7 separate regions of the Homo sapiens genome follow, and regions 2, 3, 4, 5, 6 and 7 are each linked to region 1. Evidence: promoter capture Hi-C in 16 types of primary human blood cells and fetal thymus (Javierre and others, 2016). All regions are on one chromosome and are shown on one strand. The core of a region is centred on a gene start or on the middle of the fragment in contact, and the rest is flanking DNA. Distances in the headings are between cores, read along the strand shown.

Region 1 (3,764 bases), core at 500-2,999:
GTGACGTACATGACTGAAGCAGGATGAAAACATTCACTGGCATTGACAAATTCAAAGCCAAGGGTGTTAGAAAAGTCATCACACGGGCACCACATGACTGAAGCAGGATGAAAGCGTTCACTGGCATTAAGAAGTTCAAAGACAAGGGTGTTAGAAAAGTCATCACACCGGCACCACTGGGCATGACAGCAGTGGGCAGGGAGGCAGCAATTCAATTGCTAAAATTACTAAAGAAAACGGGAGACTGCTCTGGAAGCTAAGTGAAAGAGATATGAAACATATGTAATTACTGTAGTCCCCTAAAAACCATAGAACATAGAACATATACAAACATAACTATTGCTTTCAGATAATTTTCAAGTCCATCTCTCCATGCTACAAGTCATAGCGCAGTCTACCTCTAGAGAGAATACATATTGTAATAAATTACCCAGTTAAGACTTGGAATACTTTGCAAATCCAATAGAAGATAGAAAAGTTAGTTTCCACGATATTGCAATAAGATGCTAATAGTATTAATACGAACATATTAATTCTGGAGTATACATGGAGTATTAATACCATGCTTAATATTTAACGTGTTTTATTTTGATTACAGAATCAATGGAATACTTTTGTTTTTTGAGACAGAGTTTCGCTCTTGTTGCCCAGGCTGGAGTGCAATGGCGTGATCTCGGCTCACTGCAACCTCCGCCTCCCGGGCTCAAGCAATTCTCCTGCCTCAGCCTCCCGAGTAGCTGGGATTACAGGCACCCGCCACCATGCCCAGCTAATTTTTTGTATTTTTAGTAAAGACGGGGTTTCACTATTTTGGCCAGGCTGGTCTCGAATTCCTGACCTCAGGCGATCCACCCGCCTTGGCCTCCCAAAGTGCTGGGATTACAGGCGTGAGTCATAGCTCCTGGCCCTACTTTTCTTTTTAAATTTTTTGTTTGTTTATTTTTCTATATAGAGACGAGGTCTCACTGTGTTGCCCAGCCTGGTATCGAACCTCTGGGCTCAAGCGATCCTCCCGCTTCGGCCTCCCGAAGTACTGGGATTACAAGCGTGAGCCACCGCGCCCTGCCCAGTGGAATACTTTCAACGGTGCTTCTGCATTGACTTCCCATCTTCCAACCCATCCACAAACTGCAGCCAAAATGATGTTACTACAGTAACAACTTGGAGAAAGCAGTGTGGCTTAATCTGGAAGGAGCAGAAGCTGTGGAGTCCAAAGGACCCGTGTTCCTATCCTTGTTGTGCCACTTGACACGTTTAGCACAAGGGTCCCCACAGTGTTAGTTCACCGTCTCCAGCAATCACTATGACTCCCTGGAGGGCTGTCAAACGAAACAAAGGCGCAAACTGAGACAATTCCATTGTTTACGTAACTTTCGCCAAATCGGCTCCTTCCTACGAAATATCCAGCTCATAGAGCAGGCTGAGATGCTTTGTTGCTTTAATTCTCTTTAAGAGTCACAGCTGTCCATTTTCCACGTGCGGCTGAAGAATGGATTTCAGAGCGCTCTCCCTCCGGCAGTGTTCACCTAGTAACCCCTTCCGGATAAGGACCTGCAGCCCGGGCGCGACCCGGAAAGGGAATCCGCCCTTTTCGCCTCCTTCGCGCCAATCGCCTGGAGTTGGCGTTTCCGCAGCCGGGACACAGCCCACCCTCTAAGAGCCGCGGAGTCGGGGACGGTAGAAGGGGCCGCGCGTGCGCAGTGGCGTCCGCTGTGCTTCCGGTGCGCCGGGCGCGGACGCGGGCACGCACACACGCAAGCACGCCTCCACTTAACTCGCGCCGCCGCGGCAGCTCGAGTCCACCAGCAGCGCCGTCCGCTTGACCGAGATGCTGCGGGCCTGTCAGTTATCGGGTGTGACCGCCGCCGCCCAGGTGAGCACTGGGGCTCCCGGAGGCGCGTGAGGAGGCTGAACTAGAACCGTCAGCGAAAAACGGGGGAGCCTTGGTCGCTGCCTAGCCTCCAGGACAAAGGCGAGCCTCAGGGCCACCCTCGTCGGGAGAGGCCCGGGCGGGCAGCTAGGCAGCCACCAGGGAGTTCGCCGGACTGGGATGACTTGAGGTTATTGCAGCAGCGGGGTGGGGTGTGGAGAGTAGCGGGAGGCGCGGCTTCGTGGGCATGTAGTCCAATCAGGGCCGCGCTGCCCCCGTCCAGGACCAATCCTGGCTGCTGGCGTCTGGGTCGCCGGTTGGGCGCGCGATAGGTTTTCAGTGCTGAAGGTCGACGGGCGAGAACTACAGTTCCCGTCAGGACGAGCGGAGCGGCGGCTTGTTGCATCCTTAATAAGGAGGTGCCTGGACTTCTAGCGAGAGTCCACATTTTAGGGGTCAAGGTTGTAATTATCTGGGAGGGAGTGCCTTTCTTTTCGCAGCTGAGAACACTTCTGAGTTATTCTTAATCCAAACAAAAGCGAAAGATTTTCATTTGTGGAGCTGAAACTCCTGGTCTTCAAGGAAAGACAGGAGTCATGACCTTGTGGCTCATTTCTGAGATTAGGGCAGGGATCTGTGTCTCCAGGCGCTGGGACTACTTTGACATTCAAGGAGCCTAAATACCCAGTTACTTCTAGTTTTGCGTAATTGCCAAAGTTACTTTCTAAAATTGAAAATTAAAAAGCCTGTTTCCACTGCTCATGATTTTCAGGAAGTTGATATTTTGGCAAAATGTAGATAGCAAACCAAGTACTGTGACTCAAGCAGTAATTGAACAGAATCCCTAGGAATAGTGAGTTAGAGATCATAAAAGTCAAGCTTTGTTTTTTCAAGTTCGCTTCTCTTCCTATTTGCTGCTAGGTAACAGAAGCAGCCCCTTCCATAGGAAAGTGGAACGAACCTGTGTTAGTTTTCTATTGCTGCGTAACAAATACCACAAATTTAGCAGCTTAAAACAACACCCATGAATGACCTTACGGGTTCTGTAGGATAGAAGTCTGGGCACGGATGATCTGTGTTCTCCGCTCCAGGTCACATAAGGCTGCAAAGTATTAGCCATGCTGTGGTTCTCATTTGGAGATCAGGGTCCTCTTCCAGGCTCATGCAGTTTGTTGGCAGAATTCAGTCCCTTGCAGTTACAGGACTGAAGTACTTCTTTTCTTGCTGCCTCTTGCCAGCCACTGCTCCCAGCTTCTACAGCCTGCCTACAGTTCCTTGCCTCAAGGCCTCTAGAGGCCATTCATAACATTGATGTTTGCTTTCGTGCAGGCTACCAGGAGCTTGCCTCTCTGACTTCCAAATTTCTTTTACTTTGGTCTTTCCTCTCTAGACCCAGATTTAAAAGGCTTATGTGATTAGACCAGGCCCACCTGGATGACCTCCTTTTCAGTTAATTCAGAGTCAACTTTTTGGGATCCCATTTGGGAATTAAGAAAACTAATTAAAACTTGGTAATAAAAAATGAACCCTTTTATAGCTCTGAATCAAGATGTCTAAGCTTCTTGAAATTGCTGTCTTGTAAAATTCTTTGGTTTATTCTCACCATCTCCTTAATTCTGTAGCATTTGACATTGCTGCTTTATGAGGCTCTTTGTACTTTTGGCTTCTCTCAAGTAATATTTTGGGTCCCATCTCTCTTGTTTTCCTTTACTGAGTCTGCTTCTGCTTTGTACCTCGAAATATACACCTTCTCATCTCTTCCTGTCTCTTTATAGACTCTCTAATTTGAGATTACATCAACTCTCAGAACTTTAATCCCCAAGCAGGTGACTCTCTAGCCTCGTCGTATTTGATTGTATCAACGTATCCAGAATATCTCACTTGTCAAGATCCT
Region 2 (3,764 bases), core at 241-2,740, 490 kb after region 1:
TGCCACTGCACTCCAGCCTGGGTGACTGAGCAAGACTCTGTTGAAGGAAGGAAGGAAGGAAGAAAGGAAGGAAGAAAGGAAGGAAGGAAGGAAGGAAGGAAGGTGGGAGGGAGGGAGGGAGGGAGGGAAGGAAGGAAAGAAAGAAAGAAAAGGAAGGAAGGAAGGAAAGGAAGAAGGAAGGGGAGAAAGAAAGAGAGAGAGACAGAAAGAAAAGCTGAAAGCCAAATACAGGGAGAAAATCTTGACAGCAGCAAAAGAAAAACAATTCATCACTTACAAGGGAACCCCCAATTATTAACAGGTGCCTCCTCATCAGAAACAGTGGAGTGCAGATGAGTCCAGATAGCAGTGGGGAAACACACCTCCAGGATAGACTATGTGGTAGCCCATAAAACAAACGTCAATAAATTAAAAAGGATAGAAAGAATACAAAATATGTTCCCTGACCACAACAGAATAAAACTAATAATCAGTAACAGAAACAAATTTGGGGAACTCACAAATATGTGAAAATTAAACAACACACTCCTAAATAACCAATGGATTAAAGGAAAAATCAAGAGGGAAATTAGAAAATACCTTGAGGTGAAAGAAAATGAAACCACAGCACACCAAAACTTACGGGTTGTAGCTTAAGCTGTGCCAAAAGGGAAATTTGTAGCTGTAAATGCCTATAATGAAAAAGAGGAAGATTTGAAATCTTCGTCTCAGAAATCCCATTTTAAGACAATGGAAAAAGGCTGGGTGCAGTGGCTCACATCTGTAGTCTCAGCACTTTGAGAGGCCAACGCAGGAAGATCATTTGATGCCAGGAGTTCAAACCCAGCCTGGGCAACATAGCGAGATCTATCTCTAAAAAAAAGAAAAGTAAATTAGCTGAGCATGGTGGCCTGTGCCTGTAGTCCTAGCTACTTGGGAGTCTGAGGCAGGAAGATTGCTTGAGCCCAGGAGTTCAAGGTTACAATGGAAAAAAAAAAAAGACATGAGAAAGAAGAGCAAATTAAACCTAAAGCAAGCAGAAAAAAAGAGATACTTAAAAAATTAGAGTGGAAATGTGGAAATTATTAAAATGGAGACTAGAAACAATATTTGAGAATACGAGATGAAATCAAAAGTTGGTTCTTTGAAAAAGCAAGTCTTTAGTTAGATTGACCACAATAAAAAGAGAGATGCTGCAAATTACTAGAATCAGAAATGAAGGAGGGGAAATTACAACTGACCTTACAGAGAGAAAAAGGATTATACTATTATGCTAATTAATTATGCTAATGCATTAGACAACTTAGAATGAAATGGGCACATTCCTACAAAGACACAAATGACTGAAACTGATGCAAGAGTAACAGAAAATCTGAATAGACCTATAATAAATAGGTTGAATTAGTCATCAAAACAATGACTCACAAAGAAAATACCAAGCCAGATGTCTTCATTGGTGAATTCTACCAAATATTTAAAGAATTAATACCAATTCTTCAGAAACTCTTCCAAAAACTAGAAGAGGATGCCCTGATGCCAAAACCAGGTGAAACCAGATGAAAACATCAAAAGAAAAAAAAAAACTACAGACCAATATCTCTTTTGAATATGGATACAAAAATTTTCAAAAAAAATTCTAGCAGGCTGAATCCTGCAACACATAAAAACAATTATATACCATGACCAGGTAAGATTTATCCAGAAATGCAAGGCAAATCAGCAACCAAAAGTCAAGTAATAAAATTCATCATATCAGTAAAATTAAAAATGAAAAACACATGATCCTCTCAATAGCACAGAACTATCATTTGACAAAATTTAACATCTCTTCATGATAATAGTCTCAACAGCAGGGGAATCACTTGGACCCAGGAACCTGGGAGGTAGAGGTTGCAGCAGCCACTGCACTCCAGCCTGGGGGACTGAGCGAGACTCCGTCTCAATAAAAAGGTGTTTCCACTTATGGCAGAAGAGAAAGGGAGCAAGTGTGTGCAGAGATCACATAGTGAGAAAAAAGAGAGAGAGGAGGTTTAACAAGCAGCTCTCACAGAAACTAATAGAGCAAGAACTCACTCATTACCACAAGAATGGCACCAAGCCATTCATGAGGGATCCTCCTCCCTGACTCATACACCTCCCACTAGGTCCCACCTCCAATATTGGGGATCACATGTCTTTTTTTTTTTTTTTTTGAGATGGAGTTTCGTCCTCATTGCCCAGGCTGGAGCGCAATGGCGCAATCTCGGCCTCCCAGGTTCAAGTGATTCTCCTGCCTCAGCCTCCCGAGTAGCTGGGATTACAGGCATGTGCCGCCACGCCTGGCTAACTTTGTATTTTTAGTAGCGATGGGGTTTCTGCATGTTGGTAAGGCTGGTCTTGAACTCCCAACCTCAGGTGATCCACCCACCTAGGACTCCCAAAATGCTGGGATTACAGGCATGAGCCACTGTGCCCGGCCAGGGATCACATTTCAACATGAAGTTTGAAAGTTGCATTCTTGCAACTTGCCATGGAGTTTGGAGATTACACCTTCCAAACCTCCCAGTGTAAACAGGAGCCCCTATTTACCCTTAAACAGGATTCTCCACTGTTAACACCTTACCACATTGCATGTATGTGGTATATACCTTATCACACTCATTCTTTGCGTATGTATTCCCTTTTTTTCTGAATCATTTCAGAAATTGTAATTGCAGATATGATGACCTATTACTCTTTGAATACCTTAGTGTATATTTTCTAACAAGGACACTGCCGTACATAACCATAGTACAACCATCAAAATCAGGAATTAACATTAACAGAATATTACCATCACAGATTCCAGTCACATTTTATAAATTGCCCCAATTATGTTCTTTATAGGTCTGGATCCAAATCAGGATCATGTGTCGCAATTTGTTGTCATGTCTCTTTAGTTTCCTTCTATCTGGAACAGTTCTTCAATCTTTACTTGTCTTTCAAGACCTTGGCATTTTTGAAGAGGACAGGCTAGAGTGCAGTGGCTCCCGCCTGTAATCCCAGCACTTTGAGAGGCCAAGGCAGGCAGATTACTTGAGGTCAGGAGTTTGAGACCAGCCTGGCCAACATGGTGAAACCCCTTCTCTAATAAAAAATACAAAATTAGCCAGCTGTGGTGATACATACCTGTAATCCCAAGCTACTTCAGAGGCTGAGGCAGGAGAATCACTTGAACCCAGGAGGCGGAGATTGCAGTGAGCCCAGATCGTGCCACTGCACTCCAGCCTGGGTGACAGAGCCAGACTCAGTCTAAAATAAAAAATTTTTAAAAAATTTTTAAAAAAAGGATATGCTAAGTATTTTGTAAAATGTCAGTTTGAGTTGCTCTGATGTTTCCTCATGATTTTTGCATTTCGGCAGGAACAATGGAAAAGTAGTATTATATTTCTCTCAGAGCATTATATTATGAGGCCCATGATATTGACTTGCCCCATGGGAGGTGGGAGTAACTTTCATCAGCTGACAGGCTTCTCCACTGTCAGGTTAACTAATAATGGAATGTATTAATTAATATCAAATTAGTGAGCCAGGCGCAGTTCTGCACACCTGTAGTCCCAGCTACTCTGGAGGCCTAGGTGGAAGTATCCCTTGAGGCCAGGAGTTTGAGGCTACAGTGAGCTAAGATCATGCCTGAGAAGGGCCACTGCACTCCAGCCTGGGAAACAAAGTGAGACTCTGTCTCTAAAGAATAAATAAATAAATAAATAAACACTTTTAAAAAATCAAGTTAGTATATGATATACTCACTATACCAAATATGTTAG
Region 3 (3,764 bases), core at 450-2,949, 450 kb after region 1:
GGTCCCCAGGCTGAGTCCTCAAGATGCCTAATCAGTTGCAATTCTAGATCAGCACAGCTGGAGGGAGGCTTGGAGATCATCTAGTCCAGAGGACAAATGCTTTTTATCACGCATGCCAAATCTAATTGATTGGTAGAGGCTGCCTGAAGCTCTGTGTTGAAAAGGATCCTGAGGCTGCATCTGGGTCCCTTTGGGAATGAGTGCTATAATTGATTAGCAATGTCTGCCATGGATGAAAGAAAAGGAGTGGCAGGATTCACACCATGTGTTTGCCACTCCTGGTCTAGTTCGATCCTGCCTTTTTTTTTTTTTTTTTTTTTTTTTGATGAGAGAGACTGAGTCCTGACGCCCGTTGTTGGTAGGGTTTTTCCCAGCCTTCTCAGGAATCTGACTACTGTTGGTCAGTGGCAGGTAGCCTGAATGTCTCTGAGGACTGAAGATGTCAGATCCAAAGACTGTCTCCAAAAAGCCAGAACAACTGCTGATTTTAGTTAATGCTATAAACTGCCTGTTTCCTGGAAATAATCGGTAAAATTAGTTGTCTCGTGGAATCGACTGGTCAGTTCAACCAATGTAGGTGATGTATCAGGCCCAGGTAAGCCCCAAGCCAGTGTCTACCTAACGTTAGTGCTCAGTTTGGCCAAAAAGAGTTCATGGGGGAGGCTAACCAACTATCTGAGCTCAAGACAATAGAACTCCCAAGTGGTCAACAAAGTTGTTCTAATCAGATGGATCACTGGCCGTCTGATTACTACCAGACAAGCTTGAGTCAAGGTGTTCTAGCCACCCTGGCCAGGACTCTACCTCCCTCACCATCATCTCCTCCTGCCCTTCCAGCCTGGCTTCTTTCCTTTCCCCTTTTGAGCCCGTGACAGATCCTGCTTCCTCTGCCAGAGAATCCTTCTGCAGTGGGCTGAACACCTCGAGAAAGTCTTCCTGACTGACCCTTCCAACACCTGCAGATAGTTCCACTGCCTTAGAGCCTCTCCTTCCATCTGTGACAGCTCAAAAACCATTCAGGCCACTCCTCATTTTAAAACTGAGGAAACTGAGGCTCAAGAATGGACATGGCTCACTTGATATCACACAGGAGGTAGACTGTTGACTTTAACCAATTGCCCCCCACTCAGTTGGCTCAGGTCTCCTGATTCCAACTCCAGGGTTGTGGTGGCTGCCTGGGGAAAATCCATTCTGTCTGGTTCACTGAGTTTCGTGCGTGACTCAGAACAACACAGATAACTTCTGAGGACTCCTGGAAGTGGGCGGACCTTCACTTTGGGGTGGCAAAGAACTTGACATGTGATGGGGGTGTGTGGGGGAGTGTGAGGGTGGCGTGGGTCATTGGTAAGGGGGGTAGGCTGCAGGAGAGGGCTGACCTGATATGAACCCTGGGGGGACTGCCAAGGGGCCCAGCCACTACCTCCTGGGAACAAGGAAACAAGGTAGTTTATCTCTCTGGCTTCGGAGCGTTTGTCACACTGCCCCCTGGAAGTCTACCCTGGCATCTTAGGTCCCCAACATTCCCCATCTTGAATTCAACAATCCTCTTTTGAGTGGGGCAGGGAAAACAAGCCCTTCCACAAGGAACTCGGCTAAGTGAAAAGTGGCCCTCAGCGGTGGTGGACAGAGCCCAGGCTTTGGACAAGGATGGTCCCGAATTGACCCTTGGCTCACCACCTACAAGCTGGGAGTTTGGCTGAGTTCCTTGATCTCACCGGGCCTCAGTTTCCTTGTTTGCAAAGCTAGGATAGAAAGATTACTGGCCCTCATAGGGTTGTTGTGAGGATTAAAGGGAGATTATCAATGTAAAGGGCTGAGCACAGGGCTTGGCAGATGGCAGCTAATAACTGCACCTTGAACGTCTCTCCTCTCCTCTCAGTGCAGTACCATACATGCTTCAGGGCTCTGATCCTACCACACCTCCTTCAGGAAGCCTTCCCTGGACACACTCAGCCCAGAGGAACACACTCCGCTCTTGGGAACTTCCAGGCTCACCTGCCAGTGTTCTATACTGAAAGCCTTGTTTCTCCAAAGAACCCACAGATCACTGGGGGCTGATGTGGTTTGCAGCCCTCCTTGCTCCTGCAGGCTCCCAGCTCAGAGCTGAACACACAGCACATGCTGAATAACATGGCTGCTCAAGCTCCTGGCACCCTCTCCCCGCCCCAGCCCACCTTATTCCCCCAGATCCCCTGATTTTCCAACCCCCTGTCTCATTTGTTCCTAATGCTTCTGTCTCCATGTCTCCAGAGCTCTGTTTGCATGAGGGAAAAAACTCTACATACACACACACACACACACACACACACACACACACACACACACACAGCCCAGAAAGCATCCAGTTGCTCCCGGGCTGGCTGCCAGCGATTGAGTGACCTGCAGCTTCCTCCCCAAATCACATTCCACTGGCACGGATCTTGCCCCGCCTGACGCCAGCCTCCGAACTCGCCCCCAGAGCAAACATTTCCAGTTGGCAGCTCGGCCTTGTTTTTCTGAGGCCCTGATTCGGGCTCCCTTGTAGAAAACAGAAAACAAAATGCATTGGACCAAAAATGAAATGAAATAAATTTTAAAAGGATGGAGGGCTGGGGGAAGGCATTTGCTCCAAGTCACATGGAAAAATAGAAGCTTCAGGGTGTACAAATAGCGTTTAAGAAGCAAACACACATGCTCACCATCCCCCCATCCTGCTGGCTTTGAGGCTGTGATCAATTCATTCAGGCTGCTGCCTCCCGCTAAAAGACTTACTCTGTTCTCATTCACAGCTGCGAGGGGAGGACCCGGGAGAAGGGTGGTGGGAGACCACAGATCTGAAAGGGGAGGGTGATCGGGGTTACAGGACTGTTGTTTGTTCCAAAGGGGAAATTAGAGGAAGAAAAATAAACATGGCCAGCCACATTTTAACCCCAGTGCGCGAGGAGTCCGGGGATGGACAGGGTATGTGTGTGCGTGTGCTGGCGTGTGCACATGCCTGTGGGCGCCGCCGTGTTTGCCTTCTCAAAATAAGAGCTGCTCAGTGGAAAGATGTCATAACCCAGGCTCAGGCGGCAGGGGGACGGGCCAGCCAGGGGGGGCAAGGCTGGCGCCCAGGCCTGCCCATGGGGTCAGGCAAAGGCCGGGTGTCAGAACAGGGGAGCTGTGAGTCAAGGGCCAGGCGTTTGATGCCGAAGGTCAGCCCCCAGCTGGGGCTCAGTCCATGGGGAAGAGGTGGTCCGAGGAGCATTGCTAAGAAAGGATGAGCTCATGGGATGTGGGGCTCATCTCAGCAAAGGAGGGTTGTGATGTGGGGAGGGAGGCCCCAGGGGAAGTCCATGGAGGTGGAAGGGACTAGGTGAGGTGGCAGGGTGAGGAGGAGGACAGAGAGGTGGTTAGCTGACCCCAGAGTGAGGGCAGTTGGCCACCAATCTGGCTGGGTCACAGAGCTGAGGAGCAGGGCTGCAAAGCACCTCCTGCCCAGGAACAAGGATGCTGGGAGGTGGCATGGGAAAGGAGACAGGGATCCCAGGACTGAGAGAGCATGCGGGACCTGGGCTGAGATGTAGGGTCCTTGGCCCAGGAGAGTCCCAGACGTGTTGTCAAGCATCAGGCCAGGAGTGAGTGGGCAGTCACATGAGAAGCCAGGCAGGTCCGTCAGCTTGGGAAGCCGTGAGACAGGACGAGAGCAGGCAGCTCAGAGCTGGCACCAGGACCTGTGTGGCTGGGTCGCTTCTCTATGGTGCCAGCTTCTCCATACAGGGAAGAGCCTGGCACCTTTAAGGGAG
Region 4 (3,764 bases), core at 359-2,858, 420 kb before region 1:
GTGGTACAAATTTGGTAAGTTCCTAATAATTATGTGATAACCCCACTAAAATATAAGCCCTGTTCTATAAGAGATGGATTTTTGTCTATTTTGTTCACTTTTCCCTGATGCATAGGAAGTTCTTACTACATATTTATTGAATGTATGACTCCTAAGTGGGTATATCCAGGTTCTTCTAGTAGTTCTTGTCTATAAAATACAATGAAAGTACAATATCATGATTCTTAACAGTGTAAAAAATAGAATTACTGAAATTGGGAATCTAGGATTCTTGCAACCTTATTAGTGTTATTCTTTTCCTTTCTTCAGGTGACTTGATGGAGGGTGAGCTCTATTCTGCTCTCAAGGAAGAAGAAGCATCCGAATCGGTTTCTAGTACCAATTTCAGTGGTGAAATGCACTTCTATGAGCTTGTGGAAGACACAAAAGATGGCATCTGGCTGGTTCAGGTATGAAAAGCAGTAATAATTTGATAATTCGAGAGCCCTAAAAAAATTATTTTTACCAAAATAGTATGTACCAGCCAGTGACACTTCCGTGTCCTTGTGTCTTGTTTCTCACACATAACTCAGTTCTCTTAGGGAGGCTCCAGTATCTTCTTAAAAAGGTTTTGGAGACTGAGGAAGATGAAAATTGAGTAGTGGGAAAGAGAAAGATGGGGGATGGGGGTCAACTTTTTGTTTAGAATCCCCAGAAGCAAATCTATTTTAGTTATTGGACCTTTGTTGAATTGAGAAATACACATATATATCCCTTTTATTTAGTGATTTGCACTGTTTCTCTTAGTTTTTATTATCTCCAGTTTTTAATTCAGTGGCCTGAGTAATTTTTATATATAAGTAAGAACCCTAAAGTAAAAGTAAAGGAATCATTGTATTAGGGAAATAGCCAACTTTGTGACTATAGAGGAGCTGTTGTGGAAAATGGTGGGGGTGCTCATTACGTAACTCAGGATGATGAGATTATAATTTTTAACCCTTGTTTTTATGATAGCAAAACTGTGAGACTTAATTAGCATATTAGAATTTTAGAGCTATGATGGACCTTAAAAATATTTTATGCTTTCCAAGATGTAATTTATGGTGAGTGGGCATGCATTATCATTTACATATTTTAATGTAAATTAGAAAAATTATATTAACATAAATTTCATAAATTTTGCTTAGGACAGGACTAAAGTTATTTACATTTTAAAACTGTACATTCAAAGTGACATATCAAGTAAATTAACAGCGTGAATGTGGCTAAAATTATTAATGTAGTCTGTGAATGGCTGAAGCTTGGAAATTATATCAGACTAACCCTTTCTGAGACTCTGAGAGGTGAAGTAGCTTGCCCAAGGTCATGGAACTAGTTGGTAGTATTGAACCAGGATGAAACCCAGGTCTTCTGATTTCTTGACTGGTACTCTTATCATTTCACACTGGAGTGGGCAAAGTTTGATTCAGGGCATGAAAATTAAAACAGTTTCTTCATATTTCTTTCTGAGAGTAAAGACTGCAAAATATGGTAGGAAAAGCTATGAGTTCAGAGACATTAGTTGCAGGTCTGGTACTGTCGCTGTTACAGGTCTGGTACTGTCACTGACTAGCAGTATGATTGTAAATAGGTATATTTTTCTGTTGCACGTGGCCTCAAATAAATACATATACATCTAAAAAGGATAAAATGGTACTGTAGTCCACTGTGCTAAAGGGTTGAGGTTTGGGAATTCTTCCAGAGATTTACATTGTTCATCCATGGCCTTTCTTTATTGTATCCTTCCTATTGCATTTGTCCTTTTACCTTCCGGATAATCTAATTCAGTAATTTTTAAGTTCAGCAATGGGAGAGAATGTGAGAGTATGAGTGTAGTCTATACATTATCTATTTAAATTTTAGTTTATTTCTGTGTCAGTTGGAGTTGAAAAATAAGGTGGAGCTTTTTTAAAGCTTTAATGTATAAGTATATTGTTATTCTGTTTCTTTTCTCTGGTACTTATTTCTAATAGTCTGATTGAGAAAGACACTGGTTTTGATAATTTTAGATTTTATTACTGAGGATGAATTGAATAGCCAGTCCCACTGCCCTGCTTTCAGTGTCTAAATGTCACCCACATTGAATGATCCCATGGAAATAAATGGTGAAGATGTTGCACACCTTTGAAACTTGGAAGGGCTATGTCAAAAGTCTTGAGTTCTTTTGCTATATAGGCTGCTGCCTATAGACAACAAATACATTCTGGTTCAATAGTTAGCAGTATGTTCTTGGCTTGTAAATGATCTACTGTTTTTGATGTCCTGTTAAAGATATCCATGAATTAAGCTCCTGTAATAAATATGTGACAGAATTCATCAAAAGTTTATTCAGTTGTGGGTGTGCCAGGCCCTGTTCTGGGCCCTGAAGATATACCAGAAACACACACCAAGCTAAGGCCTTGCTCTGTCAGGCAGCTCACATTCTAGTTGGGAGAGGCAGACACCAAATAAATAAATATTTAATATAACATCAGTTAGTGGAAAGTAGTAAGAAGAAAAATAAGCAGATTAAGGAGATGAGAGTGGCAAGGAATTCTCTGGTAAGGTGACAAATGAAGTGAAGGACAAATAATGATAGTAAATGGTAGCATTATAAATTCTAGTTGCTAAATTTTTTTTCTCTGAAAATATTTTTAAACCTTATAGGTATTAATAGTTGAAAAACAACTCTTTAAAAATAGAATGTATTTCTGTGGTTTTTCTATGTATGGAAATAATGCAGTAGGACACCTGCTTAATTTTTCCAGTGATGCTCAAGGTTTGCATTGACCACCACTGTCTGGCTTGTGTTCCTTGAGGCCAGTGGCTTACATCTGTCAAATGGCTGGCCTGGTCTGAAAGAACAATCTCTGGCAGGACAACTGAGAAGAATGAGATTGAAACCCTGTCCTTGGCACTGTGAACTAGCCAGCTAAGCCAATCAGCACAGCCACCTTGGTTTAAGCCCTTAAAAGAGGGTTGTACTTTTTAAAACTATGCTTAAAATTGAAAATATCTACTAGAAACAGAAGAGAAATATTGTCTCCATTGCTTGCCATTCTTTCAGCTCAGATCATATATATTAATCTATTGTAAAGGATAACTTTCAAGAATTGTTTTTAACAATTTGAATTGTTGTTATTTTCTGTTTACAGTAGTCCCCCCTTATCTGAGGGGGATGCGTTCCAAGACCCCCAGTGGATGCCTGAAACCGTGGATAGTACCAAATCCTATATAGTCTATGTTTTTTCCTATACATACATACCTGTGATAAAGTTTAATGTGTAAGTTAGGCACAGTAACAACAACAACTAATAAAAATAGAACAATTATAACAGTATACTGAAATAACATTTATGTAAATGTGGTGTCTCTCTCTCCGAATATCTAATTGTATGTAGTATTTTCGGACTGCAGTTGACTGCAGAAAGTGAAACTGAGGGTAAGGGGAGACCACTGTATTTTAGAAGAAGCTGACTAATTTGTTCTCTGTCATTTGTTTTAAGTCTATGAGGAGTGTTTTCATAAATGAAGATGCACAGATGGCAGCCAGTTCAATCCTCTTCATATTTTTAAGCTTTTCCAGGTCCATGTTACGTATAGTCTCTGTAATGTGAACAGAATTTATTTTAGTTTTCAAGGTAGCAACATACATATGACATCTTTACCAATGACACACTATGAAATACATGTAGAACCAAGTGCTCTTTTTTCTAAGTTATTCCTAACATTGTTTTTCTCCTTTGTCCCTAACCCAAGCTCATATC
Region 5 (3,764 bases), core at 744-3,243, 360 kb after region 1:
GTTCCATTGGTCTGATGTCTTTGCATGCCAGTACCATGATGTTTTGGTTACTATAGCTTTGTAGTATATTTTGAAGTCAGGTAGTGTGATTCCTATAGCTTTGTTCTTTTTGCTCAGGATTGCTTTGGCTATTTGGGGTCTTTTGTGGTTCCATGTAAATTTTGGAATTATTTTTTCTATTTCTGTGAAGAATGTCATCGGGTCCATGAGCGTGAAATATCTTTCCATTTTGGGGTGCCCTCTTCAGTTTCTTTCATTAGTGTTTTATAGTTGTCTTTGGATAGATCTTTCACATCTTTGGTTAAATTGATTCCTAGGTATTTTGTATTCTTTGTAGCTACCATAAATGAAATTGATTTCTTGATTTCTTTTTCAGATTGTTGTTCTTGGGATATGTAAATGCTATTGATTTTTGTATGTTGATTTTGAATGCTGCAACTTTACTGAATTCACTTATCAGTTCCAACAGTTGTTTGGTGGAGTCTTTAGGTTTTTCTAAGTATAATATCATGTCATCTGCAAACAAGACTAATTTAAACTTCTTTCTTTGATGCCCTTTATTTCTTTCTCTTGCCTTATTGCCCTGAAACTTCGAGTAGTAGGTCAAATAAAAGTGGTGAAAGTGGGCATCTTTGTCTGGTTCCGGATTTTAAAGAAAAGGGTTTCAGTTTTTCCCTATCAGTATTATATTAGCTAGGAGTTTTTCATAGCTAATGACCTTTATTATTTTGAAGTATGTTTCTTCTATACCTAGTTTGTTGAAGGTTTTTTTCTTATAAAGGCATGTTTAATTTATTGAATGCTTTTTCAGCATCTATTGAAATAATCATATCGTTCTTGTTCTTGGTTCTCTTAATGCGATATATTGTGTTTATTGATTTGTATGTTGAACCATCCTTGCATCCCTAGGATGAATCCTATTTGATCATGATGAATTATCTTTTTAATGTGTTGTTGAATTCCATTTGCTAGTATTTTTTTGAGGATTTTTGCATCTATGTTCATCAGTGATATTGGCCTATAGTTCTCTTTTTTGGTTGTGTCTTTGTCTGGTTTGGTATCAGGGTAATGCAAGCCTTATAGAATGAGTTTGGAAATATTCCCTTCTCTTCAATTTTTATGAAGCATTTGAATGGAATTGGTCATCATTCTTCTTTAAATGTTTGGTAGAATTCAGCAATAATGCAATCAGGTCCTAGACTTTTCTTTGATGGGAGACATTTTATTATGGCTTCAATCTCATGACTCATTAGTGGTTTGTTGAAATTTTCTATTTCTTCATGGTTTCAATCTTGGTAGGTTGTATGTGTCCAGGAATTTGCCCATTTGTTCTAGGTTTTCCAACTTGTTGGCATGTAGTTGTTCATAACAGCTTCTAATGATTTTTTGTATGTCTGTGGCATCAGTTGTTATGTCTCCTGTTTCATTTACAATTTTATTTATTTGAGTCTTCTCTCTTAGTTAATCTAGCTAAAGGTTTGTCAATTTAGTTTTTGCCAAAAAAAAAAAACCTTTTCATTTCATTGATTTTCTTTATTTTTTAGTCTCCATTTATTGCTGCTCTGAATTTTATATCTTTTCTTCTAATTTTGAGTTTAGTTTGTTCTTTTCTAGTTTTTTGAGGTACATCATTAGGTTGTTTATTTGAAGTCTTTCTACTTTTTTGTTACAGGCATTTATTGCTATAAAATTCCCTCTTAGTACTATTTTTGTTGTATTCTACACATTTTGATATGTCATTTTCCATTTTCATTTGTTTCCAGAAATTTTTAAAATTTTCTTAATTTCCTTATTGGCCCTAGGTCATTCAGGAGTGTGTTAATTTCCATGTGTTTGTGTATTTCCCAAGGCCCCCCTTGTTATTTCTAGTTTTATTCCATTGTGATCAGAAAATATACTTGATATGATTTCTACTTTTTTGCATTTGTTGAGACTTGTTTTGTGGCCTAATATACAGTCTGTTTTGGAGAATGTTCCATGTGCTGATGAAGAAAATGTGTATTCTGCAGCAGTTGGGTAAAATGTTCTGTAAGTGTCAGGCCTAATTTGATCTGGTGTGTAGTTTAACTCCAGTGTTTCTTGATTTTCTGTCTGGATGACCTGTCCATCACATATAGTAGCATGTTGAAGTCCCCTACTATTATTGTATTGCAGTCTATCTCTCCCTTTAGATTTGTTAATGTTCGCATTATATACTTGAGAGCTCTGTTGTTCAGTACATAGATATTGATACATATTTCCTCCTGCTGAATTATTCCCTTTATCATTAGTGATCTTCTTTGTCTCTTTTTACAGTCTTTGATCTGTAGTCTGTTTTATCTGATGTAAGTACTTACTTATATCAGCTACTTACTCCTGCTCTTTTTTGGTTTCCAATTACATAGAATATCTTTTTCCATCCCTTCACGTTAGAAGTGAAATGATCTTCTTGTAGGCAGCATATAGTCAGGTCTTATTTCTTTATCCATTTAGCCATTCTATGTCTTTTAATTGGAGAACTGAGTCCATTTACATTCAGTGTTTTTGTTGATAGGTAAGGACTTACTACTGCCATTTTGTTGCTTGTTTTCTGGTTGTTTTGTAACTCCTCTCTTCCTTTCTTACTGTCTTCCTTTGTGGTAAGTGATTTTCTCTGATAGTATGTTTTAACGCATTGCTTTTTATTTTTAGTGAATCTATTATAGATTTTTGCATTGTGGTTACCATCAGGCTTACCAAAAAAATCTTACAGATACAACAAGTTATTTTAAAGAGATGGCAGCATAGATCACACAGAAAATAGAAACAAAGAAAAATGTAAAAACAAAAAACTGAAAAAACCTCTACACTTTAACTTCATCCTCCCCACATTTTGGCTTTATATTATCTCAATTTATATATCTTTATATTCCCTATCTCCCTTTTTTTTTTTAATTTTTTTTTTTGAGACAGAGTCTTGCTCTGTCACCCAGGCCAGAGTGCAGTGGTGCAATCTTGGCTCACTGCAAGCTCCAACTCCTGGGTTCTCACCATTCTTCTGGCTCAGCCTCCTAAGTAGCTGGGACTACAGGTGCCTGCCACCACGCCCAGCTAATTTTTGGGATTTTTAGTAGAGATGGGGTTTCACCATGTTAGCCAGGATGGTCTCGATCTCCTGATCTCGTAATCTGCCCACCTCGGCCTCCCAAAGTGCTGCGATTACAGGCGTGAGCCACCACACCTGGCCGATATTCCCTATCTCTTAATAGGTTGCTATAACTATTATTGTTTTTGATAGATTTGTATTTGGGGCTTTATACTAGATAGATAGATTTGTATACCATAGTTATGATGTGGATTATATACCACAATTACAGTATTAAAGTAATACTGGGTTTATCCATGTATTTAATTTTACCAGTGGGTTTTAAACCTTCAAATATTTTCTTTTTGCACATTAGTGAGTTTTTTCTTCTTTTCCTTTTTTTAGTTTCTTTTCTTTTACTTTTCTAGTATCTTGAAAACTATCATAGCTCACTGCAGGCTCGAATGCTTGGGCTCAAGCAATCCTCCTCCCTCAGCCTCCCAAGTAGCTGGGACTACAGGCACTGCTGTGCCCAGCAAATTATTTTGTGTAGAGACAGAGTCTCACCATGCTGTGCAGGCTGGCCTCAAACTCCTGGGCTCAAGCAATCCTCCCACCACAGCCTCCTGTGTAGCTAGGACTACAGGTGTGCACCACCACACCCAGCTAATTTTTAGTTTTTTGTAGAAATGGGGGTATCACTATGTTGCTCAGGCAGGTC
Region 6 (3,764 bases), core at 633-3,132, 370 kb before region 1:
TAGGGCTGGGAGAGGTGGCTCAATGTATATAATATAATCTCAACTAAGTAAAAATAGGCCCGGGCAAGGTGGCTAACACCTGTAATCCCAACACTTTGAGAGGCTGAGGTGGGAGGATCGCTTGAGCCCAGGAGTTTGAGACCCGCCTGGGCAACATGGCTAACCCTTGTCTCTACAGAAAAATTAAAAACACAGTGGGCGTGGTGGCTGACACCCAGCTACTCAGGAGGCTAAGGTGGGAGGATCACTTGAATCTGGGAGGTAGAGGCTGCAGTGAGGCAAGATCCTGCCACTGCACTCCAGCCTGGGTGACAAAGTGATACCCGGTCTCAAAAACAAATACATAAATAAAAATAAAAGTATATTTTCCAAAGGAAAAGGTTTCAGAAGATTCACACTATATTTAATAGTTGGTGTGAATCCTTTGAGACCTTTTCCCCTGAGGAAGTGAGAATGAGGGTTTAACTTTTCACAATGAACAGGCAGTGCTTTTTTAAAAACAACTTTATTGAAGTATGATTGGACATAAAATAAATCGCACATACTTAGTGTCCAACCTGGTAAGTTTTGATATTGTATACATCTGTGAAACCATCATCACAATCAAGATATTATCCATCATCCCCCTAAACTTCGTGTCTCTTTGTAATCCCTCTTTTCTGCCTCTTTCTGACCCCACTCCTATCCGCTAGCAACCGCCCATGTACTCTCTGTCACTATGTATTAGTTTGCATTTTCCAGAATGTTATGTAAATGGAATCATACGGTTCTGGCTTCTTTCACTTGGCAGAATTATTTTGAGATTCATCCATGCTGTTGCATTTATCAATAGTTTACTTTTTTATTGCTCAGTACTATTCCTTCGTATGGATCAATCACGACTGGTTTATCCATTCACTTGTTGATAGACATTTGGATTGTTTCCAGTTTATGGCTATTACAAATAGAGCTGCTATGAACATTTGTGTACAAGTCTTTGTAAGAACATATGCTTTTTTCCCTCTTGGGTAAATAGCTAGGAATGGAAGGCTGGCTTTGTTTAGCATTTTAAGAAATTGTCAAAATGTTTTCAAAGCTGCCGAACCATTTTATGATTCCACCAGAGACAGGAGTATGGGGCTGAGGTAACAAATGGTCCCCTTCACCATCCTCGGATGAGTTAATGACAGTAACCATCAGCTCACCGTATAGGCCTAATCAGGAACTGTCCGTGCTAAAATGTGTCTAGTTCTCTTTAGTCAGATTCCTTTGAGAGTGTGATTAAGCTCACGGTCAGTGTGGCGTGTAGGACGGGACACACATGGACAAATGCTAGGCAGGAATCGCCCACGCTGGAAAGGGCGATGGCCTGAAAAAAAACGACCGCAGTTGGGATGGAAAGGGGAGGGTTGAAGTTCAGACATATTGAAGTTAGAATGGTTGGGACTTGGTAAGAGGGGAGAGAGGACGATGCCTAGGGTTTAGTGACCAGGTGATGGTGGTGCAAGCAGAGGGGAGGAGTGGGTTGGCGGGAGGAAAAAGAGGTTATTTTTGGTTTGTCACCTGTGAGTTGCCTACTGGACACAAAGATGAAGCTGTCGGGAAAGTGATGCTAAGTGTACACGTCTGCGTGGAGATCCAGACTTCTGGTGCAACATCTAGGTTTAGGTGAAGTATTAGAAGCAGTTGTAGCCAACAAATTCGTATCTTTCAGAGCAATCATTTCTACACCTTACGAAAAGCACCGAATCCGTGGTCTCCCCCACACAGACATGACCAGAACATGTGCGATGACGTCAGCCTTTTTGACTAGTCTCCCACTCACTCGATTCTGCGCAGGCGTATGGCGCATGCGCAACATCCCCTAGTGCCGCCGCTCCCTACTCTGGGGGTTGGGACTACCTCCTTTTCCGCGGGCCCCGCCCAGGCGGCTGCCCGTGACCTGCCTGGGCGCGGGGAACTGAAAGCCGGAAGGGGCAAGACGGGTTCAGTTCGTCATGGGGCTGTTTGGAAAGACCCAGGAGAAGCCGCCCAAAGAACTGGTAAGGGCTACGGCGGCGGCAGATAAGCGGGTGGATCTGTGTGGGGCGTAGTGAAGTTGGTAAATGACAGGACACTCTTCTCCCCACCGCCTGCCCGATACCGCCCGGCCCCCATTTCCGGGGACTCCCACTCGACAGGGGGGCCGGAGGAAGAGTCTTTAGGAGTCGGCTGTGGGACGCGAGAGCTCCTGGTGCCATGGCTCTCGAACAGGTAGCCGAGGGTGGATGAAGAGTTTCTCCACCTCGCCACTGAGCGCGTAGGCAGCGACACCGTCCTGGCCTCGGAAACCTCTTCCCCCTGCGCGCGTTGGTACGACCCGCCCGGAACCTTTTCCCAGCGTAGGCCCCACCCCTCCAGCCCGGCTGCGGACCACCCGGAGAACCTTCTCCTGCCCGAAGCGTTGTTTGGAGCGGGCCGGGTCGCGTCTGCCGGAGGAGCCGTCTGTTCTCCGTCCTCCCTGTTGTGTTGAAAAAGAGGCTCAGTTTCCTCTTTCCCCAGCCCTTGTGTTGACCCTAGGCACATACCGTAGCGGGGCAGGGACTCGACCCAGAAGAATGTTACAGAAGATAGCTCTGGACCCGGCTTCGAACTCTCGTTACCTATTAATTGAGATAATATTGGGAGGCAAACAGTTGAAAATGCCCTGCAGTCAGTCAACCTAAGTTTGAATCCTGCCTTCCCACATCTCAGCTCTGTGATCTCTGGAAAGTTCACTTCTCAGTGCCTTCTCGACTGTGAAGCCAGAATAATAGTAGTGTCACCTCAGAGTAATTGAAGATTCAGGGATGTAAAGTTTTCATATTGGTAGTTAGGGCTAATTCTTTAAATACGGCACAGCTTTGCTACTCAAATGCCAACCAGCAGCATCAACATCACCTGGGAGCTTGTTAAATCTCGGACACCACTCCAGACCCACTGAGTCAGATTTTGAATTCTGACAAGCTCCCTAATGATTAGTGTGCACATCAGTGCTTTGAGAAGCACTGCTCTGCAACACCTAGGCTTGTCCATAATGGAAAAAAAAAATCCTGAAATCCTTTAATAAATGATCTTACCTGTTCAGCTCTAGCAGGCACATTTTAAAAACTAATCTTATGCATCTTGCAATTCCTGGCACATAATGTGCGTTAATGTAAATTTGTTGTTGTTGTTGTTAAAGGCCCTAGAACAGTAGACACTCATTATTTTCGTCAGGAAACTTACTCAGTTTTGCTCCTTGGTAAAATAAAAATTGTGGCGCTTAAATGAAATAACGGTATAACATCACTTTGGAAACTATAGAACATTATATAGATGCACATTTTGTGACATCTGTATATTCTAAGATTCTTGTTATTGTAGAAGTGTGGTAGGGAGAGATTATTTGTTGTCTTCAGTGTTTGGCCTTGGCATTGCCATTCGTAAATTGAGATAAGATTATGGAGAAGCAAAAAAGATGCTGGGGAAATGGTTGCTTTATTGTTTAAACTAGTCTCTAGTATATGTACTACTATACTACTCTAGTATATTGTACACTTAGATTGTTTTTAAATGATAAATTGCTAAGAACACGATATTGGTACACTCTTCAGTAGGGTAATCTACCTGAGAAAGCTGATTGACACTGGAAAATGGCAGGGTTGATGCATGAGATTGGTTTTTAAAACTATGCTTGCCAGAGCCGAACAGGTAAGATCATTTATTGAATAAAAAATTTTAGTTGTTTTTCCCCCCATTATGGACAAGTCTGGGTATTGTAGAGC
Region 7 (3,764 bases), core at 777-3,276, 330 kb before region 1:
CTGAGAATTGAGTTGTAGGAGTAAGAGGCCAGCCTAGATGTTTGGAGGGAGGATGAAGAAAAGAGCTTTCTACCTTTGTCCTAGGTCCAGAGCAGCCCCAGGCAAAATGTTACAACAGGCTGTGGGGCTTTGGTTCACCTCCTTTTCTGCTTCATCTCTGCCTACCTAATGCTTCCTCACATCTTAGGAATCTGTAGACCACGTGATGGGTATTCAGCATACATGTGAACTCTCCATTTTAGATGACTTTTAGGAACTCATGATATTTAAAATAGGAATAAACATTGTTTCCTTTCAGTGTCCAGTACAGTACTGTTTGTGGTCGTTCATCTAGTTGGTTTCTTTTCTTAATTTCCATTAAATTATGAAGTAGTCCTAACTCAGAACTATAGTTCTTTGGTAATGGCAGCAAGTGACTGTCAGATATTTAGATTGAATACAGACTCAGAAATCATGGAGAGCCAGGCATGGTGGCATGCAGTTGTAGTCCCAGCTGCTCAGGAGGCTGAGCAAGGAGAATTAAGTGCTTGAGCCCAGGGGTTTGAGGCCACAGTGAGCTCTGATTACACCTGTGAATAACCACTGTGCCTGAGCCTGGACAATAAATATAGCAAGACTGTGTCTAAAAAAGAAATAAATTATGGAGAAATTTTTCACTGAAGAATATTTTCAACTCTCTGTCAGATACTTCATTGATCACACTCAAAAGAAGTTAGAAGATGAAGTGTTTTAATTTATAGGATGGTGCCAAATGGGTTTCTAATGCATTATTTGGTTGTATTTCGTTCTGAAGGTATTTTCTTCACATTCAATTTTAACATTCGAATGTGGTTTTAAAATATGCCTAACCATGAATGTATCATTAGTTTCTTTCTCGAGATACTGAAGAGAATAATCATGGGCTGGGAAAGAGTAAAAAAAAAATGACAAAATGTTTGTACCACATCATCCTTTAAAAAATCTATCAAGATTATCTTTTATTTATTTATTTTTGTTTTTTTGAGATAGAGTCTTTCTCTGTCACCCAGGCTGGAGTGCAGTGGTGTGATCTCGGCTAAATGCAATCTGCGCCTCCCAGGCTCAAGCGATTCGCCCGCCTCACCCTCCCAAGTAGCTGGGATTACAGGTGCCCACCACTACTCCCAGCTAATTTTTGTATTTTTAGTAGAGACGGGGTTTCGCCATGTTACCCAGGCTGGTCTCAAACTCCTGACCTCAGGTGATCTACCTTCCTCGGCTCTGCAAAGTGCTGGGATTACAGGCATGAGCCACCACTTCCGGCCTATCTTCACTTTTAAATGCCATGTTATTACAGCCCTAAAATGATGATTTTAGGCTCTTGAAATACTGGATATATCACCTAGATATGCCTTTTGATCAAACTGAGTATCAGTGCCATAAAGAAATAGTTTAATCCTGTCATGTTGAAAGCTCAAGTATTATTGTCTTTTATAGCCAGCTTGAAAAATTCAGATTGATTCTCAATTTTTCCTGCAACATGCTCAAAAGACACATGTTCAGTTGACCATGATAAGCTTGTTTAAACATTTTTCACTCTTTCCTTATTGCTTATTTTGCCTTTTTCCCTCTATGAATAAAGCAGTGTATGCACAGCCTCTTTTTTTTCCAATTGTAGAGATGAAAGCAGAGGATAATGTAATAAGTCTTTATGTACCTATTATACAGAACTAATAAAATTTATCTTTTTTTTTTTTGGTAGAGACGGGGTTTTACCATGTTGCCCAGGATGGTCTTGAACTGCTGAGCTCAAGTGATCCACTGCCTCAGTCTTCCAAAGTGCTGGGATTATAGTTGTGAGCCGCTGCACCTGGCCCAGAACTAATACAATTTAACGTTTTGTTGTATTTGCCTGCTTCTATATTATATATATATAAAAAAAGCATTATTACAAAAGTTGAAGCTCCTTTAATACACCTTCCCAGTTTCATTCTCTTCTCTCCCAACCTCTCCAGAGAAAGCCACTATCATGAATCTTAAAATTTTTATGAATGGTATCATACTATAGATACCATTCTGCGTCTTTTTGCTCCATTTATCATCGTTTTTGAAATATGTTCATGTGGATAAATGTAGGCAGGGTGCAGTGGCTCATACCTGTAATGCCAGCCCTTTGGGAGGCTGTGGCAGGAGGATCACTTGAGCCAGGAGTTCAAAACCAGCCTGGGAAACATAATGAAACCCTGTCTCTATAAAACAAGACAAAACAAAACAACAGCAACCACAATAAAATTATCTATGTGTATGTGTATATATATATAGAGAGAGAGAGAGAGAGAGAGCATGCTCTAGTCCATTGATTTGAACTACTAGATGAAATTACATTGATGTATCACATTTTATTTTTCTGTTCCCCTTTTGATGGATATTAAGGTTATTTTCAGTTTTTGCTGTGTGTAAAGGTTTAGGACAGTTGTATACTCAGAAGTAGAATTGCTAAGTAAGTAGCTGGGTTTAAATTTTGCTAGAATTACAAAATTGCTCTCCAAAGAAGCTTTACTAATTTATATTTCCAGCAGCAGTTCATGAGTTCTTTTTTTCCATACCTTTTCACCTTTTTGACTTGGTATTGTCAGACTTTTTTATTTTTGAGAAATGTTATCTTGTGTTAATAGTTCTCTCAGAGCTACTAAACTCGAGCATTCTCTTTTCTTTGCCCTTTCTTCCTGTGTCCTGATTCCAAAATACCTTTTCAGCCAGTTATCGTCATAGTAAGTAATCATTAGTCTGCATGCAAAAACTCTTTTATCATACACTTTCAGCAGTATACATAACAAAAGCTTCCCTGTGCACTGCACATAAGAGCCTATCGTTTAAATGTACACCCATAACAATATGTTAAGTTGTTCATTTCATATATACTGTAGCTTTACCAGAATTGAAAAGTAAAGTATTTGCTCTTTGGCCTCTGAATGTTAAGGTGCTCGAGGGCTCTATTCTAGATCCTCTGCTCCTTTCCATCTTTACTCCCAGTAGTCGATCTTATCTAACCCCATGCCTTTAAATGCCATTGAGTTTTATCTTCAGGGCTGACTTTATCTCTAAGTGCGTAATTGGCATCTCCACTCAGATGTCTCAAGGGGTATCTCAAAATTGATATAAAAAAATCTTGATTTTCCTTCTCCCACCACTTTGTCTTCTTCCAGTCTTTCTACTATGAGAATTTTTTTTTATTTTAATTTTTGGCATCATTAAAAAATTAAACATATGTATACTCTGGGTTACCTTATAATTGATGAGTTTCATGAGACTTGAATCCCCCATTTGCATTTTTGTTTATGAGGTTTGGTGTCAAATTTCACTGTGGCAATCCAGTGTGAAAAGAGCAAAACCCAACTTACTGTGTAAATGTCCTTGCCGAGGGAATCCCATCTGATGCAAGGATTTTAAGTAGTTTTTTTTTTTTTTTTTGAGACAAGATCTCGCACTGTCGCCCAGGCTGGAGTGCAGTGGTGCCATCTCGGCTCACTGCAACCTCAGTAGTCTTAATGGAGAAAAGCGGGAAAGGAGTCACCAGACAGATAGATGAGAACAGTATATATATGCATAGTTATCAAGTATTTTACCTGTAGCGTAACCCACATTATAAGTGGTGTTTTAGTTCAGCAAAGTATCACATGAAATTTACGTTGTTAATGTGAATTTTATTGATTTTGAAGTTTTTTGTATTTAATTTTGTTTTTGAAATAGTTTTATAATTGTACAATTATAGGCATTGGGAATTTTTACCCAATTAGTAAAATACA

Evidence for each region. Contacts are between HindIII fragments. The CHiCAGO score rates a contact against its expected background, and 5 or more counts as called.
Region 2: a fragment that was not itself captured here is called in contact with the fragment with the promoter of IMMT in region 1 in 1 of 17 cell types (M2 macrophages); the score reaches 5.2 in M2 macrophages.
Region 3: a contact is called between a fragment that was not itself captured here and the fragment with the promoter of IMMT in region 1, in 1 of 17 cell types (fetal thymus). The highest score is 5.4, in fetal thymus.
Region 4: a contact is called between a fragment that was not itself captured here and the fragment with the promoter of IMMT in region 1, in 1 of 17 cell types (naive CD4 T cells). The highest score is 5.1, in naive CD4 T cells.
Region 5: a fragment that was not itself captured here is called in contact with the fragment with the promoter of IMMT in region 1 in 1 of 17 cell types (fetal thymus); the score reaches 5.0 in fetal thymus.
Region 6: the fragment with the promoter of CHMP3 here is called in contact with the fragment with the promoter of IMMT in region 1 in 17 of 17 cell types (total CD4 T cells, non-activated CD4 T cells, erythroblasts and 14 more); the score reaches 20.2 in total CD4 T cells.
Region 7: a fragment that was not itself captured here is called in contact with the fragment with the promoter of IMMT in region 1 in 1 of 17 cell types (naive CD4 T cells); the score reaches 5.3 in naive CD4 T cells.

Annotation. Positions count from the first base shown.
Region 1 is chr2:86,193,447-86,197,210 of GRCh38, reverse strand. IMMT (inner membrane mitochondrial protein) reads left to right here and starts at 1,749. Exons shown (of 15, transcript NM_006839.3): 1 at 1,749-1,873. The coding sequence starts at 1,829. RefSeq lists enhancers at 1,759-1,878, 1,899-2,078, 2,199-2,248. The HindIII fragment of the contact is 5,542 bases long and covers 1-2,751 here.
Region 2 is chr2:85,699,959-85,703,722 of GRCh38, reverse strand. No RefSeq gene overlaps it. Among named protein-coding and RNA genes, the nearest start is that of GNLY, 7.5 kb to the right of the region's middle. The HindIII fragment of the contact is 5,566 bases long and covers 1-3,764 here.
Region 3 is chr2:85,741,285-85,745,048 of GRCh38, reverse strand. No RefSeq gene overlaps it. Among named protein-coding and RNA genes, the nearest start is that of ATOH8, 11 kb to the left of the region's middle. The HindIII fragment of the contact is 1,868 bases long and covers 766-2,633 here.
Region 4 is chr2:86,617,015-86,620,778 of GRCh38, reverse strand. It overlaps RNF103-CHMP3 (RNF103-CHMP3 readthrough), which reads left to right. Exons shown (of 8, transcript NM_001198954.1): 3 at 310-449. The coding sequence starts at 318. RNF103 (ring finger protein 103) reads left to right here. Exons shown (of 4, transcript NM_005667.4): 2 at 310-449. It overlaps CHMP3-AS1 (CHMP3 and RNF103 antisense RNA 1), which reads right to left. Exons shown (of 6, transcript NR_183901.1): 6 at 3,330-3,603. Among named protein-coding and RNA genes, the nearest start is that of RNF103, 5.0 kb to the left of the region's middle. RefSeq lists a silencer at 3,438-3,487. The HindIII fragment of the contact is 653 bases long and covers 1,282-1,934 here.
Region 5 is chr2:85,832,180-85,835,943 of GRCh38, reverse strand. No RefSeq gene overlaps it. Among named protein-coding and RNA genes, the nearest start is that of MIR6071, 50 kb to the right of the region's middle. The HindIII fragment of the contact is 8,623 bases long and covers 1-3,764 here.
Region 6 is chr2:86,561,561-86,565,324 of GRCh38, reverse strand. It overlaps CHMP3 (charged multivesicular body protein 3), which reads left to right and starts at 1,882. Exons shown (of 6, transcript NM_016079.4): 1 at 1,882-2,021. The coding sequence starts at 1,977. All of the region lies in intron 3 of RNF103-CHMP3 (RNF103-CHMP3 readthrough), which reads left to right. It overlaps CHMP3-AS1 (CHMP3 and RNF103 antisense RNA 1), which reads right to left and starts at 3,255. Exons shown (of 6, transcript NR_183901.1): 1 at 3,078-3,255; 2 at 2,405-2,479; 3 at 1,926-2,057; 4 at 1,543-1,637; 5 at 1,185-1,348. RefSeq lists enhancers at 1,507-1,566, 1,725-2,019, 2,177-2,276, 2,287-2,456. The HindIII fragment of the contact is 23,374 bases long and covers 1-3,764 here.
Region 7 is chr2:86,525,198-86,528,961 of GRCh38, reverse strand. The region is part of intron 5 of RNF103-CHMP3 (RNF103-CHMP3 readthrough); the gene reads left to right. The region is part of intron 3 of CHMP3 (charged multivesicular body protein 3); the gene reads left to right. Among named protein-coding and RNA genes, the nearest start is that of CHMP3-AS1, 35 kb to the left of the region's middle. The HindIII fragment of the contact is 977 bases long and covers 1,538-2,514 here.